2 separate regions of the Homo sapiens genome follow, and region 1 is linked to region 2. Evidence: promoter capture Hi-C in 16 types of primary human blood cells and fetal thymus (Javierre and others, 2016). All regions are on one chromosome and are shown on one strand. Each heading gives the region's core, a stretch centred on a gene start or on the middle of the fragment in contact. The rest is flanking DNA. Distances are from core to core; before and after follow the strand shown. Region 1 has its middle 38 kb from the start of TLR5. Region 2 holds the start of CAPN8 (calpain 8).

Region 1 (4,277 bases), core at 118-2,617, 490 kb before region 2:
ACTCCAGGCATTGTCTGGGGTAAGGAGCCCTCTTTGAGGGAGGGGTGCTTTTCTTTCAATGAGTTTAAGCATTTCCTTCACTAGCTTGACTCTGTAGCTGGTTCTTCGATCCAGTCTCCTCAGAGGTCCCCTTCTCTGCTGAAGCATCTCAGATCTTCCTGCTCCTTCTGCCTTCGGCCCCTCTGTGGCTCAGGCTGACCATAGGAACTAATATGCATGTTTGTCAGGCCCTTTCTATTTTTTAATTTTTTTCTCTTACTTATAAATTACCTCAAATGGGTTTTCTATCAAACATCATTTTTGTTATTTTTGGCTTCTGTGTCTCAATTTCTTTCTTTCTTTCTTTCTTTCCTTTCTTCCTTCCTTCCTTCCTTCCTTCCTTCCTTCCTTCCTTCCTTCCTTCCTTTCTTTCTTTTTTTTAAAGATGTGGTTTCGCCATGTGGCCCAGGCTGTCTCCAACTCCTGGGGTCCAGTGATCTTCCCACCTCAGCCTCCTAAAGTGCTGGGGTTGCAGGCGTGAGCCACTGTGCCCAGCCTTTGTCAGGCCCTCTCAAGTCGATGTAGCATTTATTGAGCCCAGTACTGTGTTAGATACCAGGGAATGTCTAAGTCTGAGATACCATCCCTGTTTTCAAGAAACTTGGAGTCTGGTTGGTGACACAAGAATGACCATGAGGCAAAGAGAGACATATATGTAATAAGGTCCCTGAATGGGAGCAAGTCTGTGTGAGATCACTGTATTCAGAGCACATGTGGCCCAAGGACCTTTATTACCAAATAAATCCACGATCAACCCCAGCCTCCCACTGCACACTTTTCTTACTCCAATCCCTTGGTAGCTAAGCTGTGTGACCACAGTGGAATGAAGTAAAGACCAGCAATCTGGGTGGATTTTCCCAAAAGCTTGCCATGTGACCTTGATAAATGGCATCACATGAGTGAAAGTCACAAAATAAACCAGTGGGTCTTGTCCAGTGTCCACTGCAGCCACATGGGGAGGACACAGCCTGGTCCAGGACCTTTCCATCAATTTAATTCCAATAGAATCCAGCCTCTTTCTTTGTATGATTTTGAAGGTAGAGTTGGTTTTGTCTTCTTGCTTACTGCCTCCTTTCGCTTGTTTAAATATTTACCTTACATTTTCCCTACTCTGACTAGGGGAGACATTTTGCTAACTTAAAATAGTTGAGCGACATTGTCCTCCACAGTCCCTTCTGGAGATGTGAATTTCCTTCAAACCTCTGAGATTGGGGTTTAAGCCATCTCTTCTGGAATTCTCTCATGGGGAGATAATTGAGTTCAACCGTTCCTTCATACCAGGACCAGGTACCAGTTGTTAAAGAATTATGGAAAGCTATTCCAGAGAACATGTTGCCCACTTTTAGATATCTGCCTGAGCTCCACAGATTCAGCCAGAGTCCATTTATACAATGCTAAATGAGAGTTTCCCACATACAGGGAACTCTAACATCTCCAGATAAATAGCTCTGCAAGGAGAAAATGCAAATTATGACTTAAAGTCAGCCTCTACTTTTGTGCAGTGCATACCAATGTGGCTTTACCCTTTAGCTAGAGCAATGGAGCTACTACTTCTTTTATGCAGATAGATGCCCTGCATGAGTTTGTTTCCTGAGACTGTTGGAAAAATAAATAGACTATTAGCTACTTGGTTTCCTCTTTAGAAACCCAGCAGGCACAACAGGGAGAGACATTAGTCTTTAAGCACCAGTTCTACGAAACAACCACACCATAGAGCACTTGGAGCGGAACTGAAAAAGGTTAAAACAAGTCCAGAGAAAGGGTGTGGGCAGTCAGATAGTTTAGCAGACGCTAAGCTTGTGCCAGGGACTTTTATAATCAAGGCTTTTGCAATAGTGATTTTGTAACAAGTAAAGAATCCACACACATGAGGAGGAAGTGTAAGAAATCAATTAAAACTTCAGAGAATGAAACGTGGAAGGCATAAAGCACCACACACTAAGAGACAAGGGGAAGAATTAGTCACAGAAATAATCATGAGGAAAGTGCAATTGTGGGATCATACAAGCTGAGGATGCCTAGAGGGATCCCTGGATGTCTGTGAGCTGTAAGGCTCAAGTGGATTCCTGCAGTGCTCAGCAAGCCTCGCCAGGCCCCATGTGCACAGGTGTGGGGTGAGACCATGTGGGAGGTGAGACTGAATGAGGTGGAATGAAAGGATTGATGGGTTTTAAATAGTTGCCAAATTATTCTGCTACATCCAATAGACTCTTCCTCAGTCTTAGAAGAAAACAAGGGGGAAGGCCAGAAAAGGGAGCACAGCAAATCTAACAGTGTGGGGCAGAGGGAGGGAGAGAAAAATGGCACATAATGGGGAGTGCAAAGGAGAAGGCAAAGGGAGAATGAACATTAGGACCTGATAACTGATACTAACATAAATGCAGTGTGTGTATGGGTGTGTGTGTATATACATGTTTCCAGAATGATGGGATAGATGTACTGTTCCCCTTTCCCCATGCTAAAGACAACTAGAAACTCTGGGTTGGTTTATATAAATAAAAGTTAGAAGATTCTGAAAGGCAGAGAGAAGGAGGTGAACCAGCCGGGAATCGTGGGACCTGAGGAATGACACAGTGATGAGCTTGCTGTTTCTTTTTGTTTTTGTTTTTGCTTTTTGTTTTTTTTTTTTGGCTCATATGTCCTGGGCCTGAAGCTGAAGAAGCCAGAAACAGGTGCAGAGAAGGAGAAAAAAAATCAACAAAAAGCTATTCTCTCTAGCTAAAGGATAAGGAAAGAGGCAGCCTAGCAAGGCAGAAGACTTTTAGACGATAACCATTATGCTCCAAACACTACAGTAAAAACTGTGGCCCCATCCCGATCCATGCTAGCAAAGACCTGGTGGGGATCAGAGACTTCCACCCTCATGAGGATATGATGGGGTACTTCAACAACCCCTGCCAGAGTGGTGTCTGAAAAGACCAAGTAGTGAGCCAGGGCTTTCATCTCCAGTAGCTGGTAACAAAGATTCTCCTACTGTGGTGTAAGTAGAGACCATATGGAAATCTGGAACCCTAACTTTCACTCAGTAGTAACAAGGAGTCCCCCAGCTTGGGTGTCAATAGATGATGATTGGAGAATCTTGACGTCTACCCCACGTGGCAGTATCAAGGCAGTGCCTTCCCTCTCCTCTTCCAGGGTGCTGACACAGAAAGCCAGCTAAAACAGAAGGCTTAAGGAAAATTCAGTCGCATAACATAATACAAAAACATCCAGGTTTCAATAAAAAATCAAGCGTCATGCCAAGAACCAGGAAGATCTCAAACTGAATGAAAAAAGACATTCAAAAGAGGCCAGCACCGAGATGACAGAGATGTTAGGATTATCTGATGAAGATTTTAATGCAGGCACAATAAAAACACTTTAGTCAACAATTAGGAACACATTTTAAACAAATGAAAACATCGAAAGCCTCAGCAAAGAAATAGTAGATATAGAGAAGAAACAAATAAAATTTTTAGAACTGAAAAATACCATAACTAAAAAAAAAGAAAAAAAACCCACAACAAAAATACCACAGAACTCAGTGGATGGTCTAGCAGAATGGAGAGGACAGGGGAAAGTGAACTGGAAGATCAGACATGAGAAATTATACAATCTGAATAGCAGAGAGAAAACAGACTGAGAAAAAAAAAAAGAACAGAACCTCAAACACCTAAATTTATGTCACAGGAGTACCAGAAAGAGGATGAGACTGAAAATGTCGTCAAAAAATCATTAAACTTTCCACATCTGGAGTGCAACATAAACCTATAGATTCAATAAGCTGAGAAAATCCCAAACAAGATAAAACCAAAAAAATTTACACCTAGTAGCATTATAATTCACTTTCAGAAAACTAACAATAAAGAAAAAGCCTTGAAAGCAGCCTGTGAAGACAGCTACTTTACCTATAGGGGAGGAAAAATTCAAATGACAGCAGATTCCTCCTAAAAAACCACAGAAGCCAGAAAGAAACAGGACAATATTTTTAAAGTGCTGGAAGAAAACAATTGTCAGTTCAGAATTCTATACCCAGATAAAATATTATTTAGGATTGAAGGGGAAATGAAGACATTCTCAGATGAAGAAAAACTAGGAGAATTTGTTACTGGCAGATCTAGCCTAAAAGAACAACAGAAGGAAATTTTGATTTTGACTTGAAATCAGTTTATAAAAATGGTAATTAACATGACATTGAAACATTCCTTTTTTTGGTGACATCAGAACAATGTCTATTAATTTTAATCGGCTCTGAATCA
Region 2 (4,286 bases), core at 735-3,234:
TTTCAGAGGGGAATGGGAAGATGAACCACGGTGGGCGGGAGGGCAGCATGGCCAAGGAGTTATTCTCAGAGATGAAAACTGTTAGGCAAAATCAGCAGGATCAAAGTAAAAAGGGTAGAGGTAGCTAGCTGGAGTTAAATAGTGATTTTGACCATTTTAGAAGAAGTACTCTCCCTTTGTCTTCCTGTTTCAACCACTGCCAAGAAAATAGGAACCCTGACTTAATTTCCCTATCATGGTTTAGAAGACAAAAGGTGCCCAGGTCATTTCATAGCCCCTCTCCTGAGACGTTGTTATGAGCTCTGTTGAACAGAGCACTTTGTATGGATGAGCTCAATTCTCACAACCACTCTGTATGGGAGAGGTTCTCATCCCTGAGGAATCACTTGACAAGGGTCACATAGTGATAGGTCATGGGTCTAGGTTTTGGGAGGACTGTTCTCCATCCCTTGCCCTTGAGCTTTGGGTAGTATCAGTAACCGCATCCAGGAGCCTCTGCCTTCCGTCTGCATCCACAGAGCCCCAGCTCCCACCTCTCCACTCACCAGCCCTGATGGAATAATGTCAATTCATGACCTTGCGCAACCGTGCACCTTTCAGCAATGATGTTGTCACAATTTACCTGCCAGCTGATTGCATCCAGCACTGAGTTGTTCCATTGTGCACTGGCCCAGGGACCATATGCAGTAATAACAACTACGTATTCTGCATCTATTATGTTCTGGGCACTATGCTCTGAGATTTATCTCTAATTCTCATACCAACCCTGAAAAATAAGGTGCCAGTAAATGCCATTTTACAGATGAGAAAACTAAGGTTCACAGAGTTTACCGGCCCAAAACAACACAGGCAGAGCTAGGATTCAAATCTATCTTACCTAGTTCCAAAGCTCATCCATGCTCTTCTCTCTATACCTCACCATCTCTGAACAAGAGTTCAGGCTGGGTGTAGTGGCTCACATCTGTAATCCTAACACTTTGGGAGGCTGAGGTGGGCAGATGGCTTAAGCCCAGGAGTCCAAGACCACCCTGGGCAACACAGCACAACCCTGTCTCTACAAAAATATGTAAACATTAGCTGGGTGTGGTGGCACGTGCCTATAATCCCAGCTACTTGGGAGGTTAAGGTAGGAAAATCACCTGAGCCCAGGAAGGTTGAGGTTGCAGTGCACTGTGATCGCACCACTGCACTCCAGTCTGGGTGACAGAGTGAGACTCTGCCTCAAAAAAAATAAGAGTTCAAAAGGTGATGGGGGGGCCAGATGCAGTGGCTCATGCCTGCTATCCCAGCACTTTGGAAGGCTGAGGCAGATGGATCACCTGAGGTTGGGAGTTTGAGACCAGCCTGACCAACATGGAGAAACCCCATCTCTACTAAAAATACAAAATTAGCCAGACATGGTGGCACATGCCTGTAATCCCAGCTACTCGGGAGGCTGAGGCAGGAGAATCACTCAAACCCAGGAGGTAGAGGTTGCAGTGAGCTGAGATCATGCCATTGCACTCCAGCCTGGGTGACAGAGCAAGACTCCATCTCAAAAAAATAAAATTAAAAAAGGTGGTGGTGGAGGGATCTGAAATATGAGATCCAGACACTTAGGGTCCACAGCCTCAACTTCTCCCTCAGTTCCTCCTGATCAGATGTAAGGCCCCTCCACCTTGTATGTCACTCAACAGCAAGCCCGCTTCCTTACCGTGGGCCGCTTCCAGATGATGCCTTGAGTTTGCGGAGAGCCTGGTCCAAGATCCTTGTAGCCCAAAGCTGATGGACATGCTGGGAACTCAGGGTCCTTAAATAGGACCCCTGAGTCCAAGCACTGTTGCCTCAGGGTCTTGAAATCCTGGCCCAAGTACTTCAAAGCGTTTTGGTTGGAGCCAAGACCTTGAGTGGCTGCCCGCTGCCTAGATACACCAGCTGCCTGGGCTGCCATGGCCGTGGGCTCTGTAGGGTGGACAGAAGGGCAGGGCTGCACTGTACTCTCAGACACCTGCTCCACTGGGAGGGGAGCTATAAGGCACTAAAGGAGGTGGAGCAGACAAACATTTCACCTGAGGCCCTGTTCCAGAAGGAAGTGAGTCATGGCCAGGGACAAATATGTACCCAAGGTCCAGGCCAATCTGCCCCACCTTCTTCTTCTGCCTTTTGCAAATAATTTGGGGTCTGGGAACTTTCCAGGGCCCATCCCAGGCCATTAGCCTAAGAAATCCATTAGGATCTTGACCCCACCCCGGCATTCCCTCCACACACCTCTTTGCAAGACCTGCTTACCTTGCTTCAAGCCCATTGACTGAGATGAGAAGGCTTATTGAGCAGCTTGAAGCAAATATTCATCAAGGAATTGGAGGCATGGCTCTGAGCAGGAAGAAGGCAAGTAGTTACAGGGGCCTCCTTTCCTGCCAGAAATGTTTTGGTGCATATTTCCTAGGAAGGCAAAAAATACCAGAGAGTAGTGATTCACAGGCCAGATTTGGAATAAGCCTGACTGGAGGAGGTTCCACCTGTGAGTGAACGCTTTGGCCTCTGACTGCCTCGGTTTCTATCCCAGCTCCCCCGGTAATTTGCTCTGTCATGTTGGGCAAGTTGTTTAACCTCTTTTCTCCTAAGTTTTTTTATCTATAAACTGGAAGAGCATAGGAGAGCCTACCACAAAGGGTTGTTCGGAAGAGTGATGAGATAGTACATGTCATCTGCTTAGAACAGTATGAAGTAACATTCAGTGAATGTCAGGTATCACTATTCCTTGAAGCCAGGATTCCCAGAAAGGCCTTGGAATCAGGAGCCTTGATTCCAATCTCAGAAGTGAGTTACAAGCTGTATGACCTTGGATTAGTCACTTCTCTCTGGGCTCCAGTTTCCTACATCTGGTCTACCCGAAGGATGTCAACCACACCAATGCTTTTTGAACTTCAGTGTTTGTGGCACACTAGAAAATGGTCCCCCAAGGATACCAGGTCCTCATCTTGAGAACCTGTAAATAGTCCCTTATCTGGGAAAAGGGTTTTTGCTGCTATGACTAAGTTAAGGATCTCGAGATGGGAAGATTATCCTGACCCTAAATACACAAGTGTCCTAAGAGGAAGGCAGAAGAAGATTTGACAATAGACAAAAAGGAGAGGTGATGAAATGAGGCAGGCAGAGGTTAGCGAGATCCTGCCCCACTCCAGGGAACACCAGCAGCCACAGGAGCTGGAAGGGGCAAGAATGGATTCTCCCCTAGAGCCGCTGGAGGGATGTGGGCCTTCCAACACCTCGATTTCACAGCCTTGGGACTTCTGGCCTCCAGAACGGTGACAGAATACATGTATGTTGTTCTAAGCCACCATATTTGTGGTCATTTGTTACAGAAGACGCAGGAAACAAATATAGTGTGCAGAAGAATCCCCTGGAGCACTCGCTCAAAATGCTGATTCCCTAATAGGTGCTACCACAAATCCTCCACCCCCATCCCTCCCAAAAAAGAGTTCTAATTCAGGAGGTCTGAAGTAAGACCCAGGAATCTGCAGTTTTTAAACCAGTACCACAGAGATGATGCTAATACAAGGATCCAGGGATGCCCTCTGAGAAGCTCTGGACCAGCCGACCTCTGAGGCCTCCAACTCTGACCTTCTAAGCCAATGACAGTCCACGTGTTAAGCACTTAGCTAGGTGGGTAGGTCTGAGCAAGTAGAAAGAAGGGTTGCTCCCAGGTGTTCAGAAAAACATGTGGTTTCCCAGGTTTCATCAGAAACTCAAGGCCAGGCCAGGCATGGTGGCTCAGATCTGTAATCTCAGCACTTTGGGAGGCTGAGGCAGGAGGATTGCATGAGCCCAGGAGTTCAAGACCAGCCTGGGCAACATAACAAGACCCAGTCTCTAAAAAAAAAAAAAGAAAAATTAGCTGGGCATGGTGGTGCATGCCTGTAGTCCCAGCTACTCAAGAGGCTGAGGTAGGAGGATCACTTGAGCCCAGGAGGTCAGGTCAAGGCTGCAGTGAGTCACCCACTCCAGCCTGGGTGACAGAGTGATGAAACCCTGCCTGAAAAAAAAAAAAAGAAAGAAAGAAAGAAAAAGAAATTCAAGGCCAAAATGGCCTTCAGAGGCTAAAGCTAGCCTCAGAAAGACTATGGTCCATGCCCCCTTGGGGACCCCGTCTTCCTTCCCTCAACATCACTTTCCCTTTGATTCCACATCTGCCCACTATTAAGCTCATCTAGTGTTCACAGTTACATTTTCACCGGCCCACACAGTTGACACGGTCTCACTTGGGTGGCCCCAACCACCCCTAAAACCAGAACCACAACTCCATT

The links. The method cuts DNA at HindIII sites, captures the fragments that hold promoters and counts their contacts. A CHiCAGO score of 5 or more calls a contact.
Region 1: a contact is called between a fragment that was not itself captured here and the fragment with the promoter of CAPN8 in region 2, in 1 of 17 cell types (M1 macrophages). The highest score is 5.5, in M1 macrophages.

The regions. Positions count from the first base shown.
Region 1 is chr1:223,179,140-223,183,416 of GRCh38, forward strand. No RefSeq gene overlaps it. Among named protein-coding and RNA genes, the nearest start is that of TLR5, 38 kb to the left of the region's middle. The HindIII fragment of the contact is 932 bases long and covers 902-1,833 here.
Region 2 is chr1:223,663,717-223,668,002 of GRCh38, forward strand. It overlaps CAPN8 (calpain 8), which reads right to left and starts at 1,985. Exons shown (of 21, transcript NM_001143962.2): 1 at 1,694-1,985. The coding sequence starts at 1,930. The HindIII fragment of the contact is 20,763 bases long and covers 1-4,286 here.